Linked DNA regions of Homo sapiens: region 1 is linked to region 2. Evidence: promoter capture Hi-C in 16 types of primary human blood cells and fetal thymus (Javierre and others, 2016). All regions are on one chromosome and are shown on one strand. The core of a region is centred on a gene start or on the middle of the fragment in contact, and the rest is flanking DNA. Distances in the headings are between cores, read along the strand shown. Region 1 overlaps PUDP (pseudouridine 5'-phosphatase). Region 2 holds the start of TBL1X (transducin beta like 1 X-linked).

What was found. Contacts are between HindIII fragments. The CHiCAGO score rates a contact against its expected background, and 5 or more counts as called.
Region 1: a fragment that was not itself captured here is called in contact with the fragment with the promoter of TBL1X in region 2 in 1 of 17 cell types (activated CD4 T cells); the score reaches 5.3 in activated CD4 T cells.

Annotation. Positions count from the first base shown.
Region 1 is chrX:7,140,918-7,147,008 of GRCh38, reverse strand. The region is part of intron 1 of PUDP (pseudouridine 5'-phosphatase); the gene reads left to right. Among named protein-coding and RNA genes, the nearest start is that of STS, 3.7 kb to the left of the region's middle. The HindIII fragment of the contact is 1,669 bases long and covers 513-2,181 here.
Region 2 is chrX:9,461,867-9,467,749 of GRCh38, reverse strand. It overlaps TBL1X (transducin beta like 1 X-linked), which reads right to left and starts at 2,692. Exons shown (of 18, transcript NM_005647.4): 1 at 2,303-2,692. RefSeq lists silencers at 1,717-1,866, 2,167-2,306, 2,427-3,006 and enhancers at 3,237-3,436, 3,264-4,092, 4,467-4,761. The HindIII fragment of the contact is 11,363 bases long and covers 1-5,883 here.

The DNA.
Region 1 (6,091 bases), core at 98-2,597, 2.3 Mb after region 2:
AACACTATGACACATAATCACCAGGAGGCTTCATATATCTATAAACATGTCTGCATACTCTTTGTAGACAGCTGACCTGCTTGGTTACGTATATCATTCCTTCATTTCAAAACCCTGCAAGTTAGGAGGAAGTATTTGCATGTCACTAATTAAAAAAAAAAAAAAAAAAAAAACCCTGCAGCTCAGAGAGGTAAAGCTACTTGCCCAAGGTCACACAGCTAATAAGCCAAGCTGAGAAACGATTCTGGATTGATCCAGTTCTAAATATAAATGATGTTGAGCTCATCTTAAATTGTGAATGTGACCTTGTTTCTGCTCATCATATTGCTGGGTAATTCCCTAGCAGTGTTTCCTTTTAAAAAGGCATGCAGAAACCATTCTCTTCATTTTATGAACACAGAGGTGTAAACTGATGAATTCCAAAGGAAAAAAAAAATCCCCGTAGAGGTCACTAATTGGAGCCAACGGTGTATGCAGCTACTAAATTTGAAATGACTCAATTTCAGAAAGCTTGTGGGATACATAGGTATAGTTTGTAGACATGAATTTTCCTACTCCGGTGGTCAAAAAGTTAAATTGTCAAATAAATTTCTTATCCTCTAATAAAGGTCCAGAGAACCTGTTCTGGGAGTCTCATGAATTTTAATACCAAACAAGATGTCTCATTAAAATTAAATTTATTAAACTTCTAAATGAGCTTGGTGCCTAATTCTGATTCTAGATTCACACATAGCCATGCCCTGAAGTGATGAATGTGACTTAAATGGCATTACAAGCATTGACCTCACATTGTTACCCAATCCTCTGATCTAGTCAGATAACCAAGAATTAGTGCTATTTGGAAAAATAAGCCCTGCTTCTTTTTATTCCCCCCCCTCATTTTCTGCCCATTTCCTCCTTTCCTGCCCTACCTCTTCTTTGAGGTGGTAAGGCCTTGCAAAACTTTCTTGGAAATATACCTTTGTTTATCCCATTCTTTCACCAAATGTGTAAATATAAAACACAGCTTTCCAAGATGTGCCACTTTAATTTAATCTACCAGATTATGCCTGCTGTCATTCTTTAGCACCTCACTTCAGTGTATCTGTTGTTTGCATAACAATATACTATCAATTTATAATGAGTTATTTTACAATAGGTCTGTTTTTCGGGAATTTTGAATGCATTTTTCTAGGAAGTTCTGTTTGTCTATGTAGCCCCAATACTTGCATACTTGGGGAAGTAAAATTGAAAACGAATAGTTTCATGGAGGATTGTTAACATTAGAGGAGAAGATTGTTTAATCAGAGGAGAATGAGGAAGTAAATGGAGATTTTAGAGGAAATGTTGACCAGGAAGAAAGCCAGGACACTTTCCCATGCTTTTGACATGCACGATGCTGTTAGTTGTCCTTTAAAAAAAAAAAAAAATACACTTCGGTTTCTGTTTCTCATGACCAAGGTAAGAGTCAGTTATGATTTAGGTAATATTAATAATTTTGGCTCTCAAATGCCATTCAGAGAAAGAGAGTAGGGGAGTGGGATTAGTTAAAAACTGGGATGATTTTGAAATAAGAAGATGACAATTATTAAACAGTATCTCAGCAGCTGGACAGGGAAGATTATTCTGTTTGTAAATAACTGAAATTAGGAACACAAAAGATGGTCCCAATTTCTTTAAAAGAGAAGACAGTTTGTTGTCCAGAGCAGTTCTGTCTCATAGAATTGAGCCAGGTAAAAATTTTGGGGAGCAATTTTTAATAAGTAAAAAGATACAGATGACATTGATTTGGATGATGTATGTTATGTAACCTAATGTATCAAAAATATTATTTAATACAAAGTCAGTATAAGAAAATCTTTGAAGTGTTTGACATTAATTTTGATACTAGGTCCTCAAAATCTGTGTGTGTTTTATACATACAACACATCTTAGTTTGAACTAGCCTCATTTCAGGCACTCTGTAGCCTCATTTGGTGGGTGGCTACTGGCTTGGACAGCATGGGTCTAGGTCTTTGTGGAGCAACCCAAGATGTCTGTTGATAATGGCTATGCTGGGAGGGTCAGGCAGAGGGTGGGTGTTAAGAATATTCAGAATTAGGAGTTTTGGTGTATGTAAAATGTGGTATGTGTAAAATGTGTTTTCTTGGAGTCTAATACAGAATTATTTAAAATCCTTTTAAAATCAAAGGAAAATAAGCTTATTTCCAGTTTCTTAAATATCGTAAAATAATAAGGTAGATCTGCGAAGGGTAATAAGAACATTTGCAGTGTTGACCATAATATACCATATCTTTATAAATCCAGATTGCAGGATTTTAATGAGTGACTTCTACTTCACCTTTAGTAAAATGAAGACCTCTTCTGTGCCTTTTTGCACTCCCGTAGCTTCCTCCTTGCCAAATAATAGCACTTGAGACTATAAGTGCCTGCCTCACTGTCTGGGGCCCAGGAGACCCTAAAAGGTCATGGAGGTAGGGTCTCTGTGGGGATTACCAAGCCCAGTACTGATGGGATTGTGGGCTGCCTGAGACAGTTGACAGTCATGTCCACTGTGTGGCCAAAATTCCACAGACATAGCGTGAGTGTGTTTTGCGCTGTCATTCTTTGTTAACTTCATGTAGGCTGTTTCTTTAGACACCAGAACATCTATATAGCTGATGACAAAAATAGATTTTTCTTACGTAATATTAGCGCATGCCCTAGGTGGATTGTCAGAAGAATCTATGTATGTTGTCATTTGACCCCATGAAATACGTCTGAGGTTTAAAAGTGCAGCTGACAAGCTTTTCAGCCTCAGTCGGTTCTTACTACTTGATGTTATCAAGTCATTCATTCCAAGTGGGATTTCTAAGAGTTTTGGCACATTTCTGAGGAAGGTGGAGCAAAGTGAAGGATCATTCTGCATGCTTCCATAGGTGGTTATTGTTTAACCCCAGAACGTGCAGTGATCCTAGTTGGAATGAGATCGTAATCACAATCTCCCCTCCTTCCATCATTTGTAATGGGTCTTGCTCTGGATGTCAAAGCAACTCTGGTGGTAGGTTCACATTCTTTCTTTGCCCTGTCTTCCCTGGAGGCTGACAGTGTACCCTTGGGTTTTACCCTTGCTAGGTGAAATGTAGGTTCTCTTCCACGTTTGCAAAGGAGATGGCTGAGGGTGGAGGCCAGTGTGAGGGCTTGGGACAGAGATGAACCCTTATCTCAGGGGCCATGATTGGCCTTTCACTACAGGGTGATCAATGAGTAATCTGTTGTTTCTGGAAACTGAAAAGGCTTCTGGAATATAGAAAGCACAAGACACGTGTGTTCCTATTAAGGGTCCGAAGAGATTTAGAGTAAGATGCTATATTGTATGTTGGAGAAACAGCATCAGATTATAGATTTAGCTCCGTTTGGTTCTGTTTTCTAATTGACCTGAACCATGCCAACCTTAAGTTCTTGTAGTAAGTGGTTGGTTGTCCACTGCAGCTGTTTCTGTTTCTAGAATAATTGAGAAGGGGGTAAAACTTAAATTGCAAAATTCTGCAGATAAATAATAAGAGTTTTGTCCAGCTGGCAACACAAATATTCAGCAGATTCTAGGCATGCAGGTGTAAAATATCCTTTTCTTTTTTCTAGCTCTCTCTTTCAAATAAAAGCAATATGGTTTTATTTAGAATCTTTAAGTAAACTGGATACAGGCATGTGTGAGAACTATTGTGGGTTCAGTTCCAGACCATCACAGTAAAGCAAACATCGCAATAAAATTAGTCACATGAAGTTTTTGGTTTCCCAGTACACATAAGGTTAGGTTTATACTATACTGTATTCTATTAGGTGTACAATAGCATTATGTCTAAAAAATGTACATAACCTTAAATACATTTTATTGCTTTAAAAAAAAAAGTGCTAGGGATCATGTCATCCTTCAGTGAGTTGTAATTCTTTTGCTGGTGGAAGGTGTTGTCTTGATATTGACTGTTGACCAGAGTAGTGGTTGCTGAAGGTTGGGGTGGCTGTGGCAATTTTAAAAAATAAAACAGCAATGAAGTTTGCCACATCACTTGATTCTTTCTTTTACAAAAAAATTCTCTTTTGGCGAGGCATGGTGGCTCATGCCTATAATCCCAGCACTTTGGGAGGCAGAGGCAGGCAGATCACTTGAGGTCAGGAGTTCGAGACCAGTCTGGCCAACATGGCAAAACCCCATCTCTACCAAAAATACACACACAAAAATTAGCCAGGCATGATGGTGCACACATGTAGTCCCAGCTACTCAGGAGGCTGAGGCCCGAGAATCACTTGAACCCGGGAGGCTGAGGTTGCAGTGAGCCGAGATCCCACCACTGCACTCCAGCCTGGACGACAGAGTAAGACTCTGTCTCAAAAAAAAAAAAAAAAAAAAATTGGAGTCCTCTCAAACTCTGCTGCTGCTGCTTTACCAACTAAGTTTATGTTAATATAGTGAATCCTTTGTTGTCACTTCAACAATGTTCAACAACATCTTCACCAGAAATAGATTTTTATCTCCAGAAACCACTTTCTTTTCGCGTCCCTAAGAAGCAGTGTCTATTCAGTTCAGGTTTCATCCTGAGATTGCAGCAACTCAGTCAAATCTTCAGGCTTCACTTCTAATTCTAGTTCTCTTGGTATTTCCATCACATTCTGCAGTTACTTCCTCTGCTGAAGTCTTGAACCCCTCAAAGTCATCCATGAGGATTGGAATCAACTCCTTACAAACTCCTGTTAACATTGATATTTTCATCTTTTCCCATGGATCATGAATGTTGTGAATGGCATCTGGAATGCTAAATCCTTTCCTGAAGGTTTTCCATTTACTTTGCCTAGATGCATCAGAGGAATCACTATCTATGGCATCTATAACCTTAGGAAATGCATATCCTAAGTAATAAGACTTGAAAGTTGAAGTTACTCCTCAATCCATGGGCTGCAGAGTAGATGTCGTGTTAGCAGGCCTGAAAATAACACGAATCTCCTTGTACATCTCCATCAGAGCTCTTGGGTGACCAGGTACGTTGTCAGTGGGCAGAAATATTTTGAAAGAAATATTTGTTTTTGAGCAGTAATTCTTAATAGTGGGCTTAAAATATTCGGTAAACCATGCTGTAAACAGATGTGCTGTCATCCAAGCTTTGCTGTTCCATTTACAAAGCCCAGGAAGAGAAGATTCAGCATCATTTTTAAGAGCACTAGGATTTTCAGAATTGTAAATGAGCACTGGCTTCAAGTTAAAGTCACCATCTGCATTAGCCACTAACACAAAAGTCCGCCTGTCCTTTAAAGCTTTCAAGCCAGACACTGACTTCTCCTCTCTAGCTATGAACGTCATGGGTGGCATTTTCTTCCAATAGAAGGCTGTTTTGTCTACATTGAAAATCTGTTTAGTGTAGCCACTTTCATCGGTGATCTTAGCTAGCTCTCCTGGATAACTTGCTGCGGCCTCTCCATCAGCACTTGCTGCTTCAAGGAGCTGTTCAAGGACAGAGCAAGGAGCAATTCTTTCCTTAAACCTCATGAACTTCTGCTAGATTCAGACTTTTCTTCTGCAGCTTTCTCACATGCCTCAGTCCCCATAGAAGTGAAGAGAGTTAGAGCCTTGCTCTAGGTTAGGCTTTGGCTTAAGGGAATGTTGTGCTGGTTTGGTCTTCTACCCAGATCATTAAAACTTCCTCTATGTCAGCAATAAGGCTGTTTCACTCTCATCATTCACGTGTTCACTGGGGTAGCACGTTTAATTTCCTTCAAGAACTTTTCCTTTGCATTCACAACTTGGCTAATTGGGTGCAAGAGACCTAGCTTTCAGCCTATCAGCTTCTGACATGTGTTCCTCACTAAGCTTAACCATTTCTAGCTTTTAATTTAAAGTGAGAGATGTGTGACTCTTCTTTTCTCTTGAACTCTTAGAGGCCATTGTAGGGTTATTAATTAGCCTGATTTCAATATTAGTGTGATTCAGGGACTAGGGAGGCCTGGAGGAGAGGAAGAGAGATGGGGGTCTATGGAGCAATCAGAACACACACAACATTTATCCCTTAAGTTCTCTGACTTATATGGGTGCGGTTCATGGTGCCCTAAAACAATGACAATGGTAACATCAAAGATCACTCAT
Region 2 (5,883 bases), core at 1,443-3,942:
TCGAGCCCCACAGAAAGTGAGGGCGGGAGTGGAGGGGGCAAGACCGGAGGTAAAAACTCGAGTCCAGTCTCCGGCTAACTAAAAATAGTTATGGGGGAAAAAAGTTTATCTTTCCAACTAAAAAAAAAAAAGTGTTTACAATATGCCTTTAGTGTTGCTTCCTGGGTGGAACTGATTTTTCAATGCATGTGGTAGTGAAAGATTAACAACTTCTCGGATGTAGCATATTAGGTTTTTTTGCTTTTCCTAAGGGAGGAAAAAAAGCAAATCCAAGGCATCAGGAAAGCAGTGGGAGGATGGTCCTGCCTCGCTGGGCAGAGAAGCTGTGCTGATCAGCTAAGCCAGGAGGCCCACAGGGCACTGCTGCGGGGCAGAGCACCGGAATCTGGACGCCCTGCAGAAAACTGGGAGGGGGCCGGACCCAGGTTCTAGCGGAGGTGTGCTCCTATCCAGCAGGAGTAGATCGGATAATCTGAATTCCTGACCCTCGGGACCTGCTGGAGATGGCCTCCCTCTGCAGGGACCATTTTCCCGCCTCTGTTCGTCACCTTAAAAGGTGAAAAAAAATCTTCTAACTAAGATGATGTTGTACAGAACCAGTGGTACTGATATAATTGATGGGAAAACTCCAGAAATTGAAACATTCACTTCTAAGTATGTCTACAATAAAGTTATTTTTGCAAACTGTTTCCTCTTTAAAACCACTGACAGAGAGAAGTTCTCTGAGGTAAAGGGGCAAAATGCCTGAGAGTTGGGGAGCGAGGGTGGCAGCACTACACCACAAATCTCCATATTTGCCCTACAGGTGTGTGTTCTACTAAGGGCTGGAATCGCCTTAAGGGCCGGTGATCCAGTGATGAACAACTTTTGTTGTTTGCATTAGTTACCCAGCTTGGTGGCTTTCCACAAAAATGTGCAGCACATTTGAGACAGGACTACCCTTTAAAATAAACGCGTCATACTCAACGTTCTTCTGTATTTTATTTTTCCTAATTACATCTTTTCTAGGAAGGACTTGTAAACTTTTCATAAAATCGTCAAGTGCCACTTCCAACACCAAAGCCACTGCCTGGAACCTTAGCAGGGAGGTTGCCTTCCTTCCCCCTCGCCTTCCAGGTTAAACCAGGGACTGGGCGATGTTTCAGGAGAGGAAAACATCCAAAAGGCAGGTCAAACCACACATGACAATGCAAAGCAGAAACAGTTGCAAATACAATAGAGGGTAGGTTTTTGTTTCTTTTTAGGTTTTGCTCCAGAACATCACTGACTCGAGAATAAACGTCAGTCCCTACCTTTGTGGAACGTCCAACGCAGCTGGCTGGGGGAACACGAGGCCTTGCAGGGAGCGAGCCCCGGCCCCGGTCTGACGGAACACAGGCGACGCACGTGAAGTCCAGGCCCTATCCCAGCGCAGGCGGGCCTCCAGCGACCCACAGTTGTCACATATCCGGCCAGCGCCGACTCCCGAAGGCGCACTCCCCATACTCCACTCCGAGCACCGGTCCCATCGTTAGGGAAGGTCCCCCTGGATAGCAAGGCCGGGGCCCAGGATCTGCGAGACCCACCCCACCCGCCCCGTCAGAGCCCAGGAGCAGCAACAGGTCTGCGCTCTCCCCGGGCGGCGCTCTGCAGACCCTCGACGGGCCAAGGGTGCCCCCAGCCCAGCCGTGCGCTCAGGCCGGGGAGATGGGCGGAGGACTGGGGCTCCCGACTTCCTTGACAGTTTCTGCGCGTCAGAAACTGAGCAGACACGGGGCCCGCGCCACCTCGCCCGCCGCTTGCCCCACTCCGCGAGGCTGCGCTTCCACCCGGGTCCGGGAGGGCCGGCCCGCGTCCCGGGTATGAATGGGGCTCTTCTCCCCAACAGCGGGGAAATCCCGCCACCGCCCTCCACCCCGGTCCCCGGAGCCCGCGGTGGCGCAGGTTTGCCCAGCAAGCCCCTGAATCGGCAGACAAAGGGGCACCGGAGGAAAAGCCGAGCGCTTCCCTAAACTTACCGGCCACTTCCCCCTCCCCAAAACAAAGGAGCCCCCCGCCGACCTCCGTCTCTCCCCGCAAGGCGCGCCGGCACTTCGGGGAGCGGCCACCTCGGGGTATTGTTCAGGCTCCTGGGAGCGCGCCGCACCCCAGTCCGAGCGCCGCGGGGACAGTTGGCGACCTGCACCTACAGGAGTTCCAGGGGCGGGTGGAGCGTTCGGGCGCCCCGAGCCGCCGGCCGGACCCTGGAGGGTCAGCGCGGGACCCGCCTCCCCGCAGAAGTTTGCGGACCCCGCGCCCGGCCCGCCGAGCCCTGCGCACTCACCTCGTCGCGAGCAGCGCAACTTGTGGCGGCGCCGCGCGCCCGGCCGCGCTCCGAACCTCCCTCCAGCCGGCAGCCTCCGAGTCCCGGCCGTGCGGCGGCCGAAGAGGGCCCGGCGCCCCGGAGCAGCCGCGCGCCGCCCCCGGGCCGCCCCCGCCCCGCCGCCGCCGAGTCCCGGAGAGAGCGCGGGCGCTGGAAAGTTTCGGTGGCGAATGGCGGCCTGAGGGCGCTGCGGCGGCGGCGGGGCGGGGGCGCTGGCGGCTCCTCGCTCCCAAGCGCGGAGTGGGGGCGCTGAGGCGGGCGCGGCGGCGGCGGCGGCGGCAGCGGGAGAGGGCGGGACAGCGGGAGGGACTGGCACGGACAGTGACCTCCACGGGGAGCTGCCGCGAGCGCGCGGACCCCAGCCAGGAGGACCGCCAGGGGTCCGCCCCCGCCGCCGGCCCCTCCCTCACGGCCGTGGGAGGGGACCCGGCGTACCACCCGGCCCCGCCCCTGCGCCCCGGGGGAGCCGCGTCCCGAACCAGCCCCTCCCCTACGAGGGTAGGGACTCCGGCCCTGCCCCTCCCCCGCGGCTCCTAGTGGGGACCCGCGTCCCAACCCAGCCCCTGTCCCACGGTCGGGGGACCAGCGTCCCTACCAAGCCCGCCCCGCTCCCCCACGCCTAGGGTGGGTGAGGGGAACCCGGGCCTCTCCCTAGTTGCTCTGGTCCCGGTCCCTTCCCCGTGGCCTCCGTGGGACTGAGAGGACCCCAGGGCTACCCCCATCACATCCCAAACCCAGCCTTTCCACGACTGCCTCGAGGGGACGGGAACCTCGGCCACCCCCTCAGTTTCTAGGGGGCAGGGGAACCTCGATCACTGCTAAAGTGTTACCCTCCCCCACCCCAAAAAGGAAGCCACCCGGCTGCCCCAACAGAACCCCCTGCCACCTGCCCGATGGTGAATCTCCCTCAAAATCGGCGTCTTAGAAGACACCCCAGTAGTCTTTACCCCAGCTCAAAAAGTGGGGGTTCCGGCGGAGCCTCGACCTTTGCAAAACACCTCCCAAGAAGAGCCAGAAATGCTTAGGGACAAACTCAGACACACAGGCATAGGCGCCAGGAACTCGGGTGTGGGGGCTGAGGAGGTTGGGGGGACCTGGGCACTCGGGCCTCATCACTCCCACCCCAACCCCCCAGGCATCAGCCCTCTGGCCCTTGCAAAGTGCTTTATGTTGCAATGGCTTACACGGCCTGGCCCCGGTGTACCTAAGTCCCCAGCGCTCCTTCCTCCCCTCCACGTAGGCTACTCCCAACCACTCGCAGCCTTAATTCAGTTAAACAGATCTCCACTCCCCCTCCCCAGCACCTCTGGGGTCAGCCTCGTTGAATATTTTTCAAATATTCTTGCCCCTTCCTTTACTATATAATGAGCTTCGTGCTAAGAGCCCGGTACACTCAGCAATCTAAACTATAACCTCACTTGCTCTTCCTCGAACTCTAGACCATTTGTTGTTCTGGTTGTAGGGGGAGGGGGACCTAAGGTGAGGTTTTTGTTTTTTTGTTTTTGTTTTTGTTTTTCTGAGGAGTCTCGCTCTGTCGCCCAAGCTGGAGTGCAGTGGCGCGCTGTCGGCTCATTGCAACCTCCACCACCCTGGTTCAAGCAATTCCCCTGCCTCAGCCTCCCGAGTAGCTGGGATTACAGGCGCATGCCACCACGCCCAGCTAATTTTTTTTGTATTTTTAGTAGAGACGGGGTTTCACCATATTGGCCAGACTGGTCTGAACTCCTGACCTCAGGCAATCCGCCGGCCTCGGCCTCCCAAAGTGCTGGGATTACAGGCGTGAGCCACCGTGCCCGGCCGGAGGTGAGTTTTTAAGAGGCCGGTCCTCCACCAAAACGGCGGACCTCAAAATTACCCTGCAAAATATTGCTGTAAAACGTCAATGATGCAAAACGACTGTTGCTACACCATCATTAGAGGACATCAATAAAAAAATACACACTTACACAGTCTCCATAATTGTGAATCAGCAGAATAGATTGTGTCTTATTATGTATCAGTTGCCATTCAAGGCCCCCCAGAAGGACATGGTGGGGCCTTCCCTTGAGCCTGCCCTTCGTTGCTCCTGGGCTCCCTGGGCTTGTGCAGACTGATGCTGAGGTATTACATGCAATAGAAAAACGAAGGGTGCAATAGAAAACCCGAACGAGCTCATGATGCAACCCTGCCCTGGCTACACGTGCTTCCCTTCCCCCACCGCCTGCTGGTGGGAGTGCTGCGTTTTTTCCGCCTGTAGGGTCACATTGTGGTTGATTGATTCTCCTTTCGCCTTGCTCAGTCATTCAGATTTGGAAAGTAAATAACAAGTTGACATCATTACAGCTCTGGGCTTTACGCGGACGCAGCCCTCGGCTACCGCACACTCTGGAGTAGCTGCGCAGCCAACCAGCCTCCTAGCTTGCCAGACCTGCTTGTGGTTAGCAGTTGGAAATTCCAAGCTAAACTTGGTTAAAAGGCCTCTTTGTGTGTTTTGATTACTTGGCAGATGCCAGTCTTTTAAAGTATGGGAAAGTGGTGGAAATCCTCACTTTCAAACTGGAGCCCAGTGTGGCCAGGATTTACAGCTGAGCTCCTGTAATTGACAATGCAAAAGAGCTGAGAATTCATCTTGACTGTTTGACAATATCCCCATAATCCCACCACCCTTATTACCCGTAAAGAGTCAATATCTTTTATCATAGACTCACAGGACCCCAAAGGACACTGTAAGACCTAAGACAGGAAGAGAGACCGCCTACATTTATCGTGAAATCACCAAAATTCCTCTTTTTGAAATACTAGATGGACTGTAGGTGGGTGATAATTAGACTGTGTTATTTAATCTGTTTCAACGATTTTTCAAATGTGCAGTCCTATAAGGTGGGAGAAAACAAGGAAATAAAGTAGAGCGGCAAGGAGGTAGTGTATTCTGAGAAAGCTAAAGGATAACAGGGCGAGGGGTCCACAGTGATTTACACAGAAACCCACTGCACTAGCCATGTGCGTGTGTGCGCGTGTGTGTGTTGCAAACACTTATTTTCAGTTATTGACTGGAGGGAGGGGAAAACAAGAATCTGCTTGCAACAAATACTACCAGCATTCCCCATAAACAGTACCCAAAATTTTAATTAAAAGGCAGTAGGAATTCACACAAATATACTTAACTAATCTTTCACAAAGGAGCAAAGGCAATTCATCCTTTTTAACAAGTGGTGCTGGAACAACTGGACACCCATATGCCAAAAAAAAAAAAAAAACTAGGCTTTTTATCTTTCACAAAAATTAACTTAAAATAGAACATACCCCCAAATGTAAAAGGCAAAACTATAAAAACTCTTAGAAGATAACATAGAAAATCTAGATGACCTTGGGTTTGGTAATGACTGTGTAGCTAGAACACCAAAAGCATGATGCGTAAAAGAAAAAAAAATTGGTAAGTTGGGCATCACTAAAATTTGAAAAGTCTACAAAAGACACTGTTAAGAGAATGAGAAGACAAGTCACAGAATGGGAGGAAATATTTGCAAATTCCATATCTGATTAAGGATTGTATTTGAAATATG